Regions from separate parts of the Homo sapiens genome. Here regions 1, 2, 3, 4, 5 and 7 are each linked to region 6. The links are contacts of gene promoters, found by promoter capture Hi-C in blood cells and fetal thymus (Javierre and others, 2016). All regions are on one chromosome and are shown on one strand. The core of a region is centred on a gene start or on the middle of the fragment in contact, and the rest is flanking DNA. Distances in the headings are between cores, read along the strand shown. Region 1 overlaps LINC00189 (long intergenic non-protein coding RNA 189). Region 2 overlaps LINC00189 (long intergenic non-protein coding RNA 189). Region 3 overlaps LINC00189 (long intergenic non-protein coding RNA 189). Region 4 overlaps LINC00189 (long intergenic non-protein coding RNA 189). Region 5 has its middle 7.2 kb from the start of LINC00189. Region 6 holds the start of RWDD2B (RWD domain containing 2B). Region 7 has its middle 42 kb from the start of HEMK2.

The links. The method cuts DNA at HindIII sites, captures the fragments that hold promoters and counts their contacts. A CHiCAGO score of 5 or more calls a contact.
Region 1: a contact is called between a fragment that was not itself captured here and the fragment with the promoter of RWDD2B in region 6, in 1 of 17 cell types (naive B cells). The highest score is 5.5, in naive B cells.
Region 2: a fragment that was not itself captured here is called in contact with the fragment with the promoter of RWDD2B in region 6 in 3 of 17 cell types (naive B cells, neutrophils and activated CD4 T cells); the score reaches 9.4 in naive B cells.
Region 3: a contact is called between a fragment that was not itself captured here and the fragment with the promoter of RWDD2B in region 6, in 1 of 17 cell types (naive B cells). The highest score is 5.4, in naive B cells.
Region 4: a fragment that was not itself captured here is called in contact with the fragment with the promoter of RWDD2B in region 6 in 1 of 17 cell types (neutrophils); the score reaches 5.5 in neutrophils.
Region 5: a contact is called between a fragment that was not itself captured here and the fragment with the promoter of RWDD2B in region 6, in 1 of 17 cell types (neutrophils). The highest score is 5.8, in neutrophils.
Region 7: a fragment that was not itself captured here is called in contact with the fragment with the promoter of RWDD2B in region 6 in 1 of 17 cell types (non-activated CD4 T cells); the score reaches 6.3 in non-activated CD4 T cells.

What each region holds. Positions count from the first base shown.
Region 1 is chr21:29,223,605-29,226,320 of GRCh38, reverse strand. The region is part of intron 1 of LINC00189 (long intergenic non-protein coding RNA 189); the gene reads right to left. Among named protein-coding and RNA genes, the nearest start is that of LINC00189, 31 kb to the right of the region's middle. The HindIII fragment of the contact is 1,035 bases long and covers 793-1,827 here.
Region 2 is chr21:29,264,634-29,267,402 of GRCh38, reverse strand. All of the region lies in intron 1 of LINC00189 (long intergenic non-protein coding RNA 189), which reads right to left. Among named protein-coding and RNA genes, the nearest start is that of BACH1, 33 kb to the left of the region's middle. The HindIII fragment of the contact is 2,482 bases long and covers 250-2,731 here.
Region 3 is chr21:29,241,193-29,243,938 of GRCh38, reverse strand. The region is part of intron 1 of LINC00189 (long intergenic non-protein coding RNA 189); the gene reads right to left. Among named protein-coding and RNA genes, the nearest start is that of LINC00189, 49 kb to the right of the region's middle. The HindIII fragment of the contact is 1,421 bases long and covers 700-2,120 here.
Region 4 is chr21:29,204,039-29,206,763 of GRCh38, reverse strand. The region is part of intron 1 of LINC00189 (long intergenic non-protein coding RNA 189); the gene reads right to left. Among named protein-coding and RNA genes, the nearest start is that of LINC00189, 12 kb to the right of the region's middle. The HindIII fragment of the contact is 5,970 bases long and covers 1-2,725 here.
Region 5 is chr21:29,184,868-29,187,704 of GRCh38, reverse strand. No RefSeq gene overlaps it. Among named protein-coding and RNA genes, the nearest start is that of LINC00189, 7.2 kb to the left of the region's middle. The HindIII fragment of the contact is 2,536 bases long and covers 8-2,543 here.
Region 6 is chr21:29,018,073-29,020,772 of GRCh38, reverse strand. RWDD2B (RWD domain containing 2B) reads left to right here and starts at 1,424. Exons shown (of 5, transcript NM_016940.3): 1 at 1,424-1,562. The coding sequence starts at 1,496. It overlaps LOC124905005 (a long non-coding RNA gene), which reads right to left. Exons shown (of 2, transcript XR_007067836.1): 1 at 2,526-2,700; 2 at 1-1,860. RefSeq lists an enhancer at 1,334-1,583. The HindIII fragment of the contact is 4,408 bases long and covers 1-2,469 here.
Region 7 is chr21:28,841,619-28,844,470 of GRCh38, reverse strand. It overlaps a transcript of HEMK2 not described here. Among named protein-coding and RNA genes, the nearest start is that of HEMK2, 42 kb to the left of the region's middle. The HindIII fragment of the contact is 2,217 bases long and covers 304-2,520 here.

The DNA of each region.
Region 1 (2,716 bases), core at 61-2,560, 210 kb before region 6:
TCTTGGATAAGTGACATTTGAAAAAGAAAGGTATGTAACAGGAAAAGGAATTGGAAAACAGATGATGAAATTCATTTTGAACATATTAACTTGAGATACATCGATTTCAAGATCTAGAGGTCTTATTTTGTTTTACTTTGAGATAAAATCTAATTTTCTTGGAATTCTTTGAGATAAAATCTAATTTTCTTGGAATTCTATCAACTGAAAATTTCTATTATTTGGAACTGACTTGGCAAGATCAGGAGTGAAAGAGAATATATGACTACAAACCCCATGGATGTGAAAAAAAGATAATATATAATGGCTACAAGTAATTCTATACACATACATTTGACAACTGAGATAAAATGGACCAATTTCTCCAAAATCAATAAATACCAAAGCTTACCTAAGATGAAATAGATAACCTGGATAGTCCTAAAACTATTAAAGAAATTGAATTGATAGTTTAAACATCTGAAAAAGGTATCTCTTGGACAAATTATTTCACCAATCAGTTCTACCAAACATTTAAAAAAGAAATAGCACAAATTCCACATAAGCTCTTCCTTAGAAGAGGAGGAAACACTTCCCACTTTATTTTACAAGACCAACATTAGCTAGATACCAAATAAACAACCTAATCTTAAGGGAAAAAAAACTAAAGCAAACAAGAAACAGAAGGAACATTTTCTTTAGTTTTCTTTTTAAAAAAATTCTCTTGTATATTTTTGTTGTTTATTCATTTATATGACTCGACTGCAGTAAGAAGGAACATTTTCAAAAAAGCTTTGAGTAATAGGACAAGCTTACAATAGCCACTTGAATTTGACAAAATGAGAGCAAAAAGATTAGAATATAAAGAATGCTGTAGTATGAAACAGGAAATAAGAACCAAAATAATGTCATCAAAATTAAGCAAGCTAAAAACACAAGTTAAATAAGATCAAAAGAGCAGAAAACAAAATCAATATACTTACATTTAGAAAAAGATTGTGATAATTACAGTAATGCAAATAACATGAGGTGCTTAAAGAATCATAAAGAAACTACTAGATATGGAGGACAAAAATAGAGAGCCCAACAAATGTTAACTGATGTCTCAGAAGAAAAAATAACTCAACAGTGGAATAAGAAAAGTATTACAAAGATATATCACAAAATAAGTAACAGTCCTGAAATGAGAACTCAATTGGCACAGTGAATGAACATGAAAATTAAGTATGGACCTCTTTGATATGTATCTTTGTTAAGTTATTGAATTGTAAGAATGAAAAATAATTGTTCAGGTATCAGAAAGCTAATCACCTACAAGGAGAAAAAAAACCATACGGACCTCAGACTTCTGCAAAGCCAAACACCCAGCTAGAAATGAGAACTATCTGCAGTGTGCTGTTCAATATGACAGCTACATCTGTGTTTTGAGCACTTGAAATGTGACCACTTTAAACTGAGTTTCATTCCGAATATAAAATACATCCTGAATTTTGAAGACTTTATGAATAAAAAGGTAAAAATCTCATTAACATTTTATGTTGATTACATGATGAAACATTTATATATATTGGGTTAAATAAAATATATTAGTAAAATTAATCCAATTTAGAAATGGGCAAAGGACATGATTAGATTATTTTCTATGCCACAGTATTAACAATATGACTTAACTGTTGCTCTTTAACTCTTTAATAACCATATACCACAAAACTGGCAGAATTGCTTTTCTTTAAAATAGTCATTGAAAAATATTCTTACCCAGCAAGATTTCATTTAGAACTGAAAATTTTCAGGGTATAAAATAAGCAATTGTGTTACAATTATGATCTGCCATATGAGGTTCAAGCTTCTCCAGATGTTGACCGTGTTTGTGCTTTCTCTGCCTTTTCTCCAAGTTACTTACTGCTTTCCTCTATAGCATTAGCTATTTTTAAAAATAAGCTACTATTTTTGTTTTTCAGCTTAGGCTCTTTGGTCAACTGAGGTCAACTATCCTGGTACCGTGAGATCCCCATTTATATCATCTCACCCTAAAAATATATCCCTCCAAAGTCAAAAGATGTCTTTTTCTTTCTGAGTCATTGTATATTAGTCCGTTCTCACAGTGCTACAAAGATACTACCTGAGACTGAGTAATTTATAAACAAAAGAGGTTGAATTGACTCACAGTTCCTCATGGCTGGAAAGGCCTCAGGAAACTTACAATCATGGCAGAAGGGGAAGGGGAAGCAAGGTATGTATTACACGGTGGCAGGAAAGAGAGGAGCACGCAGGGGAAACTGCCACTTATAAAACCGTCAGATCTCATGAGAACTCACTCACTATCATGAGTACAGCATGGTGGAAACCGCCCCCATAATCCAATCATCTCCCACTAGCTCCCTCCTTCAACATGTGGGAATTACAATTCAGATTATAATTCAAGGTAAGATTTGGGTGGGGACACAGACCCAAACCATATCACACTGTGACAAGTATCTGACTCTTGAAGAATTGTTAACTACTAGAATTTCAGGCAGTAAGAAAGCACTGGGATGAGAAAATCCTTTTGTCAAAATACCTGTATTTCTTGCTGTTTCTGCTTCAGTTTTTCTCCCATGGTTAGAAAAGAGATTTTCCAGTCTTCGGGGTGGAAAGCTGTTCACAGAACACAACAAAATTGAAAGGGGCTTCCCAGTTCTCTGAGAAAAGCAACAACTGGAGCTTTATAAGAAAGTGCCTGTAACTCAATAAACAA
Region 2 (2,769 bases), core at 241-2,740, 250 kb before region 6:
AGAAGCTTCTTAAGGTGGCAGACATATCCTGTGTTGTATCTGAAAGGGATCAAGACTAGATGGGTAGTTTCCAAACTGTCCTTTGCAGAGATGCAGAGGGTCTGTGGAGATCTCTAAGGGCTATCTCTGAGGGAACAGTGGACAGAAAGGTGGACAGAACCCAGCAATCAGGGCTCTGTCCCCACCATCAATACCACACAAAGTAGCCCCACCCTCTCTTTTATTACCTGCTGACATTTCAAATAAGCTTCCCAAATAAAGGGATGTGTCACTCTAAATGAAATTATCTTGAGAAGCACAGGACAAGGTAATTTTAAAATCTTTGTTCAACTCTATAATCTTATCAATTCCTAGAGACTCAGGCATTCAATAGCCCTCTTATGACCCACTGCAGTCTTCAGGTAGGTCTTCAATATACATTGATGTTATATATTAGTTATAAATTACATATTAAGATACAGTAAATGAATTACTGATTGAGGCTTGATAAGATCAGTTGCAGGAGGATGGAGATCATGACTGTTGTTTGAGATGGATTAAGAAGTGGAGGAAATAGAAACTTTGAGCAGCCTCTACTCTTTAGAGACAAATAGGTCTGGAGAAGGAGATAGCATCTGAGGAAGGTTAAAGACCAAAGGAAAATTCTTTCATGGATGCTGTGCAGATGAGAGCATTGATTTTTTTTTTTTTGAGACAGAGTCTCACTCTGTCACCCCAGCTGGAGCACAGTGGTGTGATCTTGGCTCACTGCAACCTCTGCCTCCCAGGTTCAAGTGACTCTCCTGCCTCAGCCTCCTGAGAAGTTGGGACTACAGGTGTCCGCCACCAGGCCCAGCTAATTTTTGTATTTTTAGTAGAGACAGGGTTCCACCATGTTGGCCAGGCTGGTCTCGAACTCCTGATCTCAAGTGATCAACCTGCCTCAGCTTCCTGAAGTGCTGGGATTACAGAAACAAGCCACCACACCCGACCAAGGGCATTGGTTTTAAAGTACTGAGTACTTAATCTGTTTCAGCAAGTATTTATTGTCCCATTCAAGTAGGTGCTTCTACTTTTTTAGGCCAGTGATTCCCAGCCCTGATGACTCATTAGAATCCCCTGGGGAGGTTTCAAACAGTATCAACTCCCCCATCAGTTAAAACACCATCTTTGCGGCTGAGTCCCAGGCATGGGGTGGTGGTGATGGTTGTTGTCCCCATAGTCCCAGAGCTGCCAGGCAAACCTAACATGCAGTCAGGTTTGAAGTTGGAAGTTTCATTTCAAATCAAAATGTCTAGGATTTACATCAGTGAGGTTTTAATATGTTGTATTAGTCTGTTCTCATGCTGCTAATAAAGACATACCTAAGACTGGGTAATTTATAAAGGAAAGAGGTTTAATTGACTCACAATTCCATATTGCTGGGGAAGCCTCACAATCATGGCAGAAGGGTGGAGGAAGAACAAAGACACATCTTACGTGGCAGTAGACAAGAGGGCATGTGCAGGGGAACTCCCCTTTGTAAAACCATCAGATCTCGTGAGATTTATTCCCTACAACAAGAACAGCATGGGGGAAACCCCCGCCCCCATCATTCAATTATCTTCACCTGGCCTGGCCTTGACACATGGGGATTATTACAATTCAAGGAGAGATTTGGATGAGGACAAAGTCAAACCGTATCACATGTTAATCAAAAAGTATTACATTTACCTCTTTTTTTTTCTCTTGAGGCAGAGTCTCCCTCTGTCACCCAGGCTGGCGTGATCTCAGCTCACCGCAACCTCCACCTCCTGGGTTCAAGTGATTCCCCTGCCTCACCCTCCTGAGTAGCTGGGATTACAGCACCTGCCATCACACCCAGCTAATTTTTGAATTTTTAGTACAGATGGGGTTTCACCATGTTGGCCAGGCTGGTCTCGAACTCCTGACCTCAAGTGATCCACCTACCTTGGCCTCCCAAAGTGTTGCGATTACAGGCGTGAGCCACCACACCGACCTAAATTTACCTCTTAAATAGTTCTTGTTTACAGGTTTGTTGCTGTTTACATGTGATGTGTTAAATCTTGTGATCAAAGAATATTTAATGAACACATTTATAATGAAATAATAGGAAAAATAGATGTGGAAATTTAAGTAAAATGTATGTTTTTCTTTCATTGGGAAAAGATGTATACATATAAATATATAATATATATTATATATGTAACTATATACAAAATGAATTCCAGTATATTAATCACATTATTCAATCCACAACCTGGTAACTGGAGAAAGAACTGGAGAACATCTTTCTATGCACACACCCTACCCCTCCCCACCATACTAACCTCTGCTTGGTCTTCTTTGGCAGTACAGAAATCATCACTGAGGAGTGGAAGTACTTCAAAATTGGACCAGTCTGGCTTAAATGCTGGCTCTGCCCCCCACTCTCTAGGACAAATTCTGAACTTCTCTGAGCCCAGTTTCTTCATCTAGAAATGGAAATGATGTCACCTATTTCCCATGGTTCTTTTGAGGAGTAGATGTGATCACTATAAACGACTCAGCAAAGCATCCAGCATATTTCAAAGACACATACCTCTTCCACTAACAACAGTAAGAGCAGATAATGTCCACTGATCATTTTCTATGTGCCACCACCTGGCTATGTACTCTTTATATATCAGTTCATTTTATTGTAATGCAGTGTAATCCTTCTTTTAAAGTAGGAGATGGAGAGAAGAATAGGATTATAAAGCAAGGTCAAGCTTATTTCAGATTCCTTGGCATAGCAAGGTCAGGGGACCA
Region 3 (2,746 bases), core at 161-2,660, 220 kb before region 6:
CCCGCCTGTAATCTCAGCTACTCAGGAGGCTGAAGCAGAAGAATTGCTTGAACCCGGGAGGTGGAGGTTGCAGTGAGCTAAGATCATGCCACTGCACTCCAGACTGGGCAACAGAGTAAGGCTCCTTCTCAAAAAAAAAAAGAAAGAAAAAAGAAAAAGAAACATAGGATAAATCCATCTTTTAACAGTATGTCACTTATATGTTTGCTATGGTTTGGGTGTTTGTCTCCCCAAACCTCACATTGAGCTTTGATCCCCAGTGTTGGAGATGAGGCCTAAGGGGACGTGTTTAGGCCATAGGGGTGAATTTCTCATGAATGGCTTGGTGCTATCCTTATGGTAATGAGTGAGTTCTTGCTCTATCAGTTCCTGTGAGAGCTGATTGTTAAAAAGAGCCTGGCACCTCCTGCCTCTCTTGCTTCTTCTCTTGCTGAATGATTTCTGCACACACTGACTTCCCTTCACCTTCCACCATGAGTGAAAGCAGCCTGAGACCCTCACCAGATGCAGATGTTGGTGCCATGCTTCTTGTATGGGCTACAGAAGTGTGCGCCAAATAAACCTCTTTTCTTTATAAATTACCCAGTCACAGATATTCCTTTATAGCAACACAAATGGACTCAGATAATTTTCAAACAACATAATCTGCATTTCTTTAACTTCCATTCCCCTTCAAAAGTATAATGAATATAGTAAGCTTCCTATGCTGCCAGAATTTTTGGATGCTCAATATGTTTTATAAGTTACTTTTTTCTAGATCAGCAATTAGGCCCATTATTTTAAATCTAGAGCAAATCCACTTCAACTGAAAGCATATTATTTGAAGATAACTAACATACTGTTTTAAGAAAAGTTTACTTTGTTTCCTGACTTTGCATATGTATCTTATAGAATGGGGACTGGAAGACCAACAGCAATAAATTATTTGCCAAGAAATGTAGTACATTAATAATGTAAACTGTAACTGTGTAAGGCCTTTTGAAAGATGCTTAATACATAAATCTACTCTCTGATAATTTTTTTTTTTGAAACAGAGTTTCACTCTTATTGCCCAGGCTGGAGAGCAATGGCTAGATCTCAGTTCACTGCAACCTCTGCCTCCCGGGTTCAAGCCATTCTCCTGCCTTAACCTCCCAAGTAGCTGGGATTACAGGTGCCTGCTACCACGCCCAGCTAATATTTGTATTTTTAATAGAGACCGGGTTTCACCATGTTGGCCAGGCTTGTATCAAATTCCAGACCTCCATTGATCTGCCCACTTCAGCCTCCCAAAGTGTTGGGATTACAGGCATGAGCCACCATGCCTGGTCAACACTCTGATAACTCTAAGCTATTTAATCCTTAAAAGTTACCAGCCTCATTTGCCAGAATGTGTTGTTTTGATGCCTAATGCCAGAGTGTAAGCTCCCTAAAGGTAGTAATATGTGTAGGATTTGTTCACCAGGAATATCCAGTACTTGGAAATGGGCCTGGCACATAGAATGCATTCAATAAATAATTTTAAATAAATGCTGCCATACATGGAAAGAGGATTAACATGATTTAGCTACTTAAACAATCTGCAACTCATCTGAATATTACTGGTTGGGCAAAGTCCCCAGTGCCTCTTGCTTAGGGGTAGCTTGCAAAATGAGAATCTCTCTGACCATGAAAATTATTTGGGAATTCTTCCAAATATGTCAGCTTAACAAAGACACATCAGTGAGTTATCTTGAAAATTCATTGTCTTCCTTATGTCTAAGGAAACATAGCACATTTTGACAGATAGCCACCATTTATGATTTCATGACATAACTGACACAATTGCAGCACTTAAAATAAGATTTTCCTGCTTTTGGATAGGTCTTCTCATGCCCAGTATATTTTTTAAGAAGTTATAAACAGTGAAAAACAAATTCATTGCAATTATATAAAGTATGTTAGCATAGTTCTTTTTAGAGAAAAACATCCTCATTATAAGTATGTTACTGTAAATGTATATTTATATTGTAAAATCCTAATTCATACACACTACTCCTTTTGTTGGTGGGGTAGAAGTAAGACACTAAAGGATCTAAGAGATTCATAGGGAAACTAAGTGGAAAATATTGGGAAATAAGATGAGGCAGACCAGCCAAGCTTTGGGTTTTTTGTCTGTTTTTTGAAATGGAGCTTCGCTCTTGTTGCCCAGGCTGGAGTGCAATGGCACCATCTCAGCTCACTGCAACCTCTGCCTCCTGGGTTTAAGTGATTCTCCTGCCTCAGCCTCCCGAGTAGCTGAGATTACAGGCACCCGCCACCATGCCCAGCTAATTTTTGCATTTTTAGTAGAGACGGGGTTTCACCATGTTTGCCAGGCTAGTGTCGAACTCCTGACCTCAGGTGACCTGCCCACCTCAACCTCCCAAATTGCTGGGATTACAGGTGTGAGCCACTGTTCCTGGCCATGCTTTGGGTTTTTATGGTACCAATAACCACTTCTCTGAAGTTAGAGGTGTAAACTTCACCTGCTTGATGTACTTTTTGGAAGAGCCTAGGTTGAAGAGAGGTATAGGGGATGAGAGAGGTGAGCACCAGAAAAAAACTTATAAAGAAAAGCCTGTGTTTGTTTTGAAAACAAGTAACCTATGGCTGGGAGAAGAGCTACTGTCAGATGCATGGGCAGAAAATCCAGGCAACCTGACTGTGAAAGGCCTACACAGCAGCAGCTGCAAGGCTGCTCACTGAGTCTTCAAAAGAGGGAACTTTATGCTAAGTCAATCTCTTC
Region 4 (2,725 bases), core at 90-2,589, 190 kb before region 6:
AGTGGTAAAAATGTTTCATGCTCAAATAAGTTTGAAAACGTGAGTTACACACAGTTAGATGTTTCTTTACTATAAGACTCTCAGAGTGTTCGATACGAATGTACATCAGAAGTCTTTGAGAGATTTGACCACAGACACAATGCTTTCTTTGTAGTAAACCTATTAACACCTGCTGGAGAAACTTCCCTACATTGTGAACAGTGAGGTTTTGACTACTAGTTCTGAGGTCTCATTGTTCTTAACTTCATAGATATTACTTTGACCAATGTAATCAGTGACCTATGCTTAAATATAAGTCATTGCTAAGAGAGTTTTCAAAGCTGGCCAGGGCATCCACTTAGAAACAATGATCACCTTTGCACGAGTTGATTAGATGGGGTTGAGCAGAGAACAGCTACTGTAGAAAACGCTGGAAAGAGCATCATGCTGAGAATGTACAAAGGACACATCATACAATTAGGATACTGAAAACCATCATTTTAAATGGTGCACCATAGCTGTAAACCGTAAGGAAATGATAGTGGCAAACAGGACCAGTCTACTGTGTACCAAACAAACAGAATAGCTCATCATAAGTAAGCAGAGAAGTGCCCAACCCAAGGACTGAGGTTTATACAAAAGTTTTCCAAGCACAGCCCATAGTGTCCTGTAATCACTGCCTTTGTGAGTGAAGAGAAAGACCAAAAACTTTCCAGCACAAGACTTCGGAAGTCTGACCTCACCCTTCCCCACTATGATAACTAGGAGAGAAGTTTCTAACTATATAAAATATATGAAACTCAAAGCTACAAAAAATACCTCTCTGACCTTTCTTTGGACTGGTTATGTTAAAATAAATTGTGAATTGAGGTTTTGCCTACAACAAATGGACATAGAGCAATGATAAGCTACTCTCTATAATGAATTCTGAGTAAGAAGAAATGAACTCTTTTTATTCTTTTTTTTCTTTTTTTTTTTTCGAGACGGAGTCTCACTCTTTCACCCAGGCTGGAGTGCAAGTGGTGCGATCTCGGCTCACTGCAAGCTCCGCCACCCGGGTTCACACCATTCTCCTGCCTCAGCCTCCGGAGTAGCTGGGACTACAGGCGCCCGCCACCACGCCCGGCTAACTTTTTGTATTTTTAGTAGAGGCGGGGTTTCACCGTGTTAGCCAGGATGGTCTCAATCTCCTGACCTCATGATCCACCCACCTCGGCCTCCCAAAGTGCTGGGATTACAGGCGTGAGCCACCGTGCCCGGCCGAACTCCTTTTTTTATATAAAAAATAAAAAGAGCTTTAACCAAACTGACTTTTTCCTTTTACACACAGAAATAATTGATGCTTTCAAAGTTTAGGAGAAAATTCTAAATATGCTGTCATGATAGCTAATGGAGTTTCCTTGATATCTGTATTAGTCTATTCTCACGCTGCTAATAAAGATGTACATGACACTGGGTAATTTATAAAGGAAAGAGGCTTAATTGACTCACAGTTCCACATGGCTAGGAAGGCCTCACAATCATGGTGGAAGGCCTGTGAAGAGCAAAGTCACATCTTACACGGCGACAGGCAAGACACTGTGTGCAGGGGAACTCCCATTTATAAAACCATCAGATCTCGTGAGACTTATTCACTACCACAAGTACAGTAGGAGGGAAACTGACCCTATGATTCAATTATCTCCACCTGGCACCCGGCAGGGGTTATTACAATTCAAGGTGAGATTTGAATGGGAACACAGCCAAACTATATCATATCAATATCAAATTTCCATCTCATAGAAAATTGATATACAATGGTTCTCAAAATTCAGCTGCATCAAAATCACCTAGAGAGCTTGCTGAGATCTACACTGGAGTTTCCAATTCAGTAAAACTGGGATGGGGCCTAAGGATCTGCATTTCTAACAAGTTCTCAGGTGATACTGATGCTGCAGTTCTGGGGGCCACATTTGAATACAGCTGGAATGGGATGAGCCTTAGCAATCAGCTGATCCATATCTTTACCTTACAGATGAGGAAGCGGGGCATAGAGAAGAATTTATCACTGAAGGCGAGGCCAGCAACAGCTACCTTGAACACCCCTGCACTCTGCTCTGTCCTTTTCCACTGTTTTAGTCACATGTCCAGGGTCTCAAAATGTTATACTGCTTTTCCCTACACTCTCTTCTCCATTCCCTTATCAGGAAAAACTACAAAAACTTTATTGTGGGGAAAAAAGATTACCAGGACTCTGTCTGTCTATCCTTCTAGTGTATCTTTGCCTTGTACTCCCTTTCAGCTGCTTCACTACTCTCAATATTGTCAAAAACTAATAACACAAATGATGCTTGCCTGAAGAAATGAAAGTGAATTGGGCCCTGTGAAATACAATTGATTATTGGGCTGTAGGTATTAACCCAATATGCCTGTAAAATGATTTCAGCATTCTCAATTCCCTCTGTGTGTATGTGTATTTAATTCTCTTTTGAATGTATAGTATCTTAATATGCTCCACAATAAATACAGAGTTAAATAAAGTCTTTGGCGTGTGTTCATTTACTATTTTTATAATTTTTGTGTCATGGTTTATGTTTTTTAAAAAAACTTACCTTTTAACATGCTAAAAAAGACAGTACTTCTTGAATGGTAGAATAAAGACCATCAAAAATCTGCTCATCCATAAAAGCAATGAGATCAGTGGCAAAAATTGTCAAAATTAACTTTTTCAGAACTCTGGAAATTAACTAAAAGATTGCAAAATGTC
Region 5 (2,837 bases), core at 26-2,525, 170 kb before region 6:
TGAAGCTTTGTACGATATGGAGTTGTATTAGGGTAAGTCAGAAAATAGGGAAAAGGGCTATGAGTGCTGATATTCAGAAATAAAAATGAAAAAAAACTAGGTTAAAGCCAATTAATACTTTCTCATCAGACCCTGTCATGTTTCATAGTGTTGTACACAAGTAAAGTTTTGGAAAAAAACAGAAGAGCTGGGGACTTGGGTGGGGAGGGGAGGAAGTAAGAGTTTTGTAAGGAATTCAGGGACATCAAAGTACTAAATGTATAACATTGAGCAGCGTCTGCATCCTAGCTGTGCTACCTGTGTAGTTACACAGAGTCCTGCACGCAGGAGGAGCCTGAATTGGCCTTAAAGCTCTGTCACTATCTTGAGATTCTTAATATTTTTTGCAAAAATGGACCCCAAATTTTCACACTGCACTGGGCCCCGCAAATTATGTAGTTGGTCTTGCCGCTAAGTAAAACTTTCTGAAGTAACCATTTAAAAGTCAAAAGTAAATGTTTATTCAACTTTCTACCTAATGATTAGTTTGATGTCCTGACAATAGCAAACCAAACTGAGGCTCCATACTCCCATGCTCTCCCTGCACATGGAAAGAACAGCTGGCAAGAAATGGCTGAGCAGTAACCATCAAGAGCTATGGATAAGTGGTTGTTGTACAGAACTTGAGAAGAGAGACAAGTTCCTATCATCAGTTCTTATAAGAGCTTGGATAGCTGCTTCTGAAATCAAGGACTAGACCTCTTATATTATAGTGACATCTGCCCCTAGATTGAAAATCCCCAATCTAGGAACTGAGGAAGGTAATTTGGCACTATTGTCAAAACTTTTCTTTATCATCCTTCACCTTTGACTCTGTCTAGTATAAGAAAAAGGAAATGCCAACCATTTGGGAGTTTATTACTTGCTATACAAAAGTAATCACCATTACTTCCATTCCAGGGATTAAGGTAGACCAAATATCCTATTTCCATGTTTTGCACGTGCACACACACACACACACACACACAATCATGTAAACACAAACATATATCAATGGACAAAGTGCTATTTATAGAGATACTGTATTTAAAATAATCTGGATAGATAGTAAAAATGAAGGAATTTGGAAATGATTAGTATCTTTCATAAACTTTCATCTGGTAGGACAGAGGAAGGCACTATACTCAATTTGATAAATGGAAGACATAAACTGCTAAAATGACAATACTTTTAATTGACTCCTGAAATAAAATACTGCACCAACATTATTGCTGACTCATAACTGCCCTCAATGACTTGAACTCCTCTCCTGCAGCAAAGTCTTTTAGCTCCACTCCTATACATTTCACCCCATATACTCACTCTCTTTCTTGCATACTAAGTTCCAGACAATAGGATTGTATTAGTCAGCATTGTCCAGAGAAACAGAACCAATAGATAGAGAGGTTATCAATGATAGATAGATAGATAGATAGATAGATAGATAGATAGATAGATATCAATATACAATAAGGAATTGACTCATGAGATTATGAAGGCTGACAGGTACCAAAATCTGCAGCCAGCAAGCAGGAGGCCCAGAAGAGCCATGGTGTAGTTCCAATCCAAAGGCTGGCAGGCTCAAGATCCAGGAAGAGACCAATATTTTAGTTTGAGACTGAAGGCAAAAAAGAGCCCATGTCTCAGGGTCAAGGCAGTCAGGCAGGAGGAGTTCTCTCTTACTTGTAGGAGGGTCAACCTTTTGTTCTCTTCAGGTCTTTAGTAGATTGGATGAGGCCCACCCACATTAGGATGGAAAATATGCTTTTTTCAGTCTGCCGATTCAATCGTTATCCGCATCCAAAAATACTCTCACAGACATATGCAGAATACTGGTTGACCAAATATCTGGGCATCCTGTGGCCCAGTCAACTTGATACATAAAATTAACCATTTCAAGCATGTAACTGAAAGCATCTTGTGCCAGCTTCCAGGACAGCCAGCCACCCCACTGCCTCAGCCACTTCTTTGTTCCTTCCTTCTCTGGTTGCCTGGAATATATATACCGCCATCTTGGACCATGAGATTGAGAAACATTGCTCAATAATGGCAAAGAAGTTTGAAGCCTTGGAGATTTGATGGAGAAGAGCCTCTATTTCAGCCCAGGACTACACATCCCAGTCTTTTGCATGAGAGAAAAGGAAACTTCCACCTTGTTTAAGGCACCGTTATTTGGCAGGTTTCTGTCCTTCACAAGCAATTCTAATCCTAATTCATGTACCTCCCTTTCACTCCCACTGCACACAACAGGGTAGAATTACAGACTGGACAACAAATTAGATAAAATACCTATGACCAGAAAGGGAGAAAATTGTGAAAATCCCATCCACTCTACAGGGAGGGTAATTTGTATCCTTGCAGTAATATTTGCACAGCCTTTCACAACATTACTTCATTTCTTTCCAAAAATAACCTTGAGAAGCAGACAGAGCTAATGTTTTTATCCTCATTTTTCTCTCTGAATAATCTAGGATTGTCCCTGCTTAGATGATAATTTAGTTTTAATTGATTCTTCATATTAAGCTTAGCAAAACCAGTATCAAGTGAACAATTTAATAGCTTATTAAATACAATGCTATTACTTTGCAAACATTTATAGAGAGCTTTAAAACATCTTTATAAATATAAATTTAGTCTTAAAGCAAGATTGAGGTAATAGTAAAATTTTACTTTGGTAATAGTAAAATTTTACTTTAACATAATAGACACCAAAATGACTTTTTAAAATTTAAACTGCATTTCAATGGAAACCTATGGTCACACTGAAACAGAAGAATATTGGGCTGTTTCTTTGTTGTGATGGTTTTCAAATAAAGCAA
Region 6 (2,700 bases), core at 175-2,674:
AATTCTGTACTCTCCAGGTCAGTGTTTTTCAACCTCAACACTATCAACATTTTGGACCAGCAAATTTGTTGTTGTCGGGGGATGTCCTGTTCATTGTAGGAAGTTGAGGAACATCCCTGTGCTCTACCTACCCCATGCCAATACCATCCTTCCAGTTGTGACAACCCAAAATGTCTTCAGACACTGCTAAATAGAGGGGAAATCCATCCTTCCCCTTCTCTTGAGGTCTGCTCCACTGTAAAATTCTCTCGACTTCGCTTTACACTTGAATTTTTTCATAATAAATGTTGGAGGAAAAAATAAATTATGACATTGAAAAACGCTCATGAAACACTATGCAGAAGACGTAGTTTATGAAGACCTACAATACATACTGTCGTATTTTTGTTTAAAAAAAAAAAGTGGAGGGGAGACCTAGCAGTGATATTTAGTATTGCTAAATGTCAATGTTTACAAATCTTATCTATGACATTTCTAAAATGAATATTATAAAGTGTATTGCATATAGTTGGATTGGGAAGAAAAACATTTCTAATTATTCTCCTGTCAGCATCTCCTTCAAACTACCCTTTTATTAACAGGGATAGATATGCATTCACACGGTTCCTCCCAGCTTGGTTAATGGGCAAGAACACCTAAGATAGCCAAGGCCACCATGCATCCAGGCTCACATCTCCCTAATTGCCCTCCTCCATGATTCAGGGACAAGGAGGATCACCATCGTGTGGGAAGATACTAGAAATGTAGAATTTGGAACCCCACCCCTACCTACGGAATCCTGATCTGCACTTCAACAGGATCCCCGAACTATTCCTAGGCGCGTTCGAATTTGAGGAACATTAACGGACCAATTCTTTGTCCCTGAAAAGTGCCCGTTATAGAGGCGGCCGCTGGGAAATGACAACGGGGTTGGCATGGAGAGGTATTAAGTAGAAAAACTCCGGCCGGGCACGGTGGCTCAGGCCTGTAATCCCAGCACTGTGGGAGGCCGAGGCCGGTGGATCACCTGAGGTCAGGAGTTCGAGACCAGCCTGGCCAACATGGTGAAACCCCATTTCTACTGAAAAATACAAAAATTATCTGGGCATGGTGGTGGGCGCCTGTAATCCCAGCTACTCGGGAGGCTGAGGCAGGAGAATCGCTTGAACCCAGGAGGCGGAGGCTGCAGTGAGCCGAGATCGCGCCACTGCACTCCAGCTTGAGAGACACAGCGAGACTCCGTCTCAAAAAAAAAAAAAAGGAAGAAAGAAAGAAGAAGAAGAGAACTCTGCGACTGAAAAGTACCTAGCAGGGACAACGCATTCCCTACGTCCTTCCAAGTGCAGACACCAACACCGGCGGACGCGGCTCCCAACAGGCGAGCCCCAGCTTCCGGTCCGCGGCCTTGGACGCGCATGCGCCGCATGCTTTTTTTTTTTTTTTCCGGTAGGTCGCCAGCTGAGGCGGTTTGTAAGTTTTGGGTCGCAGTATGCTAGAATTTTGAGGCTCCCTTCTGATGAAAATTGAGCTGTCCATGCAGCCATGGAACCCGGGTTACAGCAGTGAGGGGGCCACGGCTCAAGGTGAGTCTCGCCTCAGCTAGCGCCAGTGGTGACCGCCACGGGGGTTTCCCACGCTGCAGCGCCCAGTGCAACCCTTTGGGAACGTGCCCGGCATGGCGGCCCCGGTTCCCCTCACTGCATGCGCCCATCGGTCGGCTCGGTCCTCGGCGTTGCTTCCCGGCTTCTGCAGCCCTGCTCCAGCCGGGGACCTCGCCCCGGGGGCAATCAGGGTGCGAGGGCGGCTGCGTGCTGGGCTTTCTTCCTGAGAGCGTCTTGGCTTGGGTCGCGGGGTACCCTGCTCTGTTCTTCAAAAAAAAATCTGCAAGGAAAAGATATTATTCCACTCAGAAATCTCAAGTTTCAGTCTGCGTTCTCTTAAATATATTTTATTTTTTAAAAAAATAATAAAGGCGAGCTCTTACTATGTTACCCAGGCTGATCTTGAACTCCTGGGCTCAAGCAGTCCCCCTTCCTCTGCCTCCCAAAGTGCTGGGATTACAGGCGTGAGCAATCGCGCCCGGCCACAGTCTATTATCTTACAGCATTCGCTGAAATCTTGAATCATAAAATTATCTTGAGGGTTTTTTGGAAGGACTGAAATCTCTTAAGCGAAAATAATTTGGCAGATAAATGACCTGTGACATCACTCCCGTAGTTGTCCGTTCAAGAGTCCCTCCGTCCCGTTCTTCTTTGCTAATCCCATTTCATCTTCGATACCTCCAATTCAATAGCACCCTCTCCCAACTTTACTCACTCCCTGGGAGACTTTAAACAAATATATAGTTCCAAATAAGTGTTGACTCCCAAGATTATATATCTAGCTGAGTCTCTCGTAGACTTCAAAACTATACATCTAACTGCCTGCTAGACCTCTCTATTTAACAGGTGTCTTAGTAGGCACTTCATTACTTGTGTCTAAAACCAAGCTTCAGCTCCCCATGACCATCAACGTCTAAATAAATGGCAGATCCATACTTTCAGTACCTTAAAGCCCCGGAGTCATTCTTCCGTGTCTCATGTAATTCATCTGTAAATCCTGTTGCCTCTGTTCTCTGCATGTATCCAGAACCTGAAGCTCACCAACTTGACCACTATAATCCTATCAAAGCCACCATCATCTCTCCCTAGTTATTGCGGTGTCTATATCTGGTCACCCCAC
Region 7 (2,852 bases), core at 163-2,662, 180 kb after region 6:
GTGATTTCCACAAGGTATTCCACACAAAAGTTTGAGGAGACAAGATATAGAAATTGTAGGATCCCTTTTTGTAGAATAAACAATAATACTTATATATGTAGACTTACATCACATTTCTGTATAGGATTGCATGGTCAGGGAGAGAAGTATGGAATTAGGCTAATATGAAGAGTGGAGAAAAAAGCAGATGGATAGCTTCTCTGCTTTGAAAGAATGACCATCAGCCACTGTTGAGGATATTTAAAATCAGATGGTATTGACTGTTAATAAAATTCCTAATGAGAAATTCAAACAATTAAAGCTTACCAAATTGACCACTATGGAGGATATATATGCTTGAAATTTGTGTATATGTATTACGTTTAAATGTGTATATATATATAATTCCTTTGTCATTTCTCTTATTGCTTCACATATTGGAAGTAGGTATTATATAATCCCTAAATAAGCAATAGATTATTAAAACTTTGACTTAAAAACAGTCACACTTATAATGTGCTCTAATAGTGCATATAAATATATGTTTTATTTTTGAGCATTTTAAAATTCAGATTCCCTTAAAATTTCTTAAAAACACTAATTTCATATTATACGGCTTCCCAGTCCTGAATTACACATTTTACTACTATGTGAAGCTGGATGCCCTTCAGAGAAATTGGCAAAGGATAATGGCATGTAAAATACTGTTCATTTCTCATTTCCCAACCATGAATAGTAATATCCACATTATAAACATAAAATATACTCCTCAGACTTCACATCCACAGAACTGGCTTATCTGCACAGAAAATTTCATGTTTAATCAAGAAGGTCTTTAAGCTGAAAGGAGACCATGACATGCTTTAAAAGACTAAAGAATTTTCTGGTTCTATCTTCCTACCTTTCTTTGCAAAAATAATTGGGTTCTGATTGAAGTTTGTTATTACTGAGTATGTCTTTTTTGGAAGAAGATCATTAAGTTTGAATTGCACATGTGCTACCTTTTCAGAATTCCCGGATAAGGACTTAATATGGTTTTGGATTGTAATCCAAATTGTAATCACCACATGTCAAGGGAGGGACCTCGTGGGAGGTAATTGGATCATGGGGGTTGTTTCCCCCATGCTGTTCTAGGATAGCAAGTGAGTTCTCATGATTGCCTTTCTTCCCCTTCGCCTTTGCCATGATTGTAAGTTTCCTCAGGCCTCCTCAGCCATGCAGAACTGTGAGTCAAGTAAACCTTTTTCCTTTACAAATTGCCTAGTCTCAGGTACTATCTTTATAGCAGTGTGAAAATGGACTAATACAGGGCTGTGCATAATTTGTCTTTACAAAACGCGTGTTGAAACCACATGTGTTTCAAGTTCATGAGGATACTATTAGTCTCATGTAAGAGAAGACTCAGCCAATAGTGACTAGACAAAATGAACATTTACTTTTCTTATTTAAAGGAAGTCTAAATATAAGTAGTTACAAAGTTACAGTTCAACAATTTTATCAAGACCAAACTGTCTATCTTCCCATTCTTCCATCTCCAGTAATTTGATGCTATCTCCCATTGTAGACTTGGGATAACAACTGCACACTTAGCAGCAGGTTTTTACATATCCATCTCCAAAGTTAGGCAAAGGGACCCTCCTAACTAATATCTACCTGATTCTCTGTATACAATCAGAGGAGGAAATCTTCCCAGTTGCTTACTGGGATATTCTACCTTTGTCTCATCATTCATAACGAGGTCCCATGATCACCTGAAATAAATCATTGGCAAAAGGAAATGCGACTACTAGCACTAGCTTAGACTAGCCAAGATTTATCCTCTGTGACTGGGCACGTTGTTGCTGAACAAAACTCGGCTTCTGTTAGGTGGGGAGAAGGAGTAATGGCTTTGGGTAGGCAATCAACAGTGACTGCCACATGAGCAAATAATTTCCAGGTATCGTCTGGGTCTACCCTCTACGAGTCATCAGGAAGGAACAGTAGAAAGCACAATCAAATACTATCAGGCCAGTTGCTAACAAGCATCCAATTATTTCATGGCATCTGTTGATAGTCTGAGAAGTTAGGATATTAGTTCATGTGTTCAGTAGAAATACAGCTAAATCAACAAAGGGTGAGAGAGGTAAATGTTTAAGGAAAAATAAGACAAGAAAGAATTATCTCAATCTTTTATTAATAGTGTATAGAAAACTGAGTTATGTAGTTATACATGTGATATAATAAGATATAATTTTATATGAATAAATAATGTAATATATAATAATGATGCCAATAACACCCATGGAACACTTTAGGCTAGCCATTATGTCAAGTGCTTGATATGCATGTTGCTGTTTAATCTTCACAATTATCCTTTGGGATAGTGTGTCAGGCATCTATCCCTAAGACCACCCCAGGTTCAGTGACTTTCTAGAAGGACTCATAGAACTCAAAAGTTGTAATAGTTACAGTTACAGTTTATCGTAGTGAAAAGATATACAGCAAAATCAGCAAAGGGAATAGGCACATGTGACTAAATCCAAAGGAAAGCAGCCTCAAGCTTCCAAGAGTCTCTCCCAGTGGAGTTGCACAGAATGTGCCTAATTCCTCCAGCAATTAGTTGAGACAAGTGTGAAATGTTGTCTTTCAGCAGGGCTCTCCTAGCCTAGGAGTCTAAGGGTTTTTGTTTTTATTTTTTATTTTTCCATAAATTATTGGGGTACAGGTGGTATTTGGTTACATGAGTAAGTTCTTTAGTGGTGATTTTGTGAGATTTTGGTGCACCTGAGCAGTATACACTGCACCATATTTGTAGTTATTTATCCCTCATCCCCTCCCACTCTTCCCCGCAACTCCCTAAAGTCCATCGTATAATTCTTATGCCTTTGTGTCCT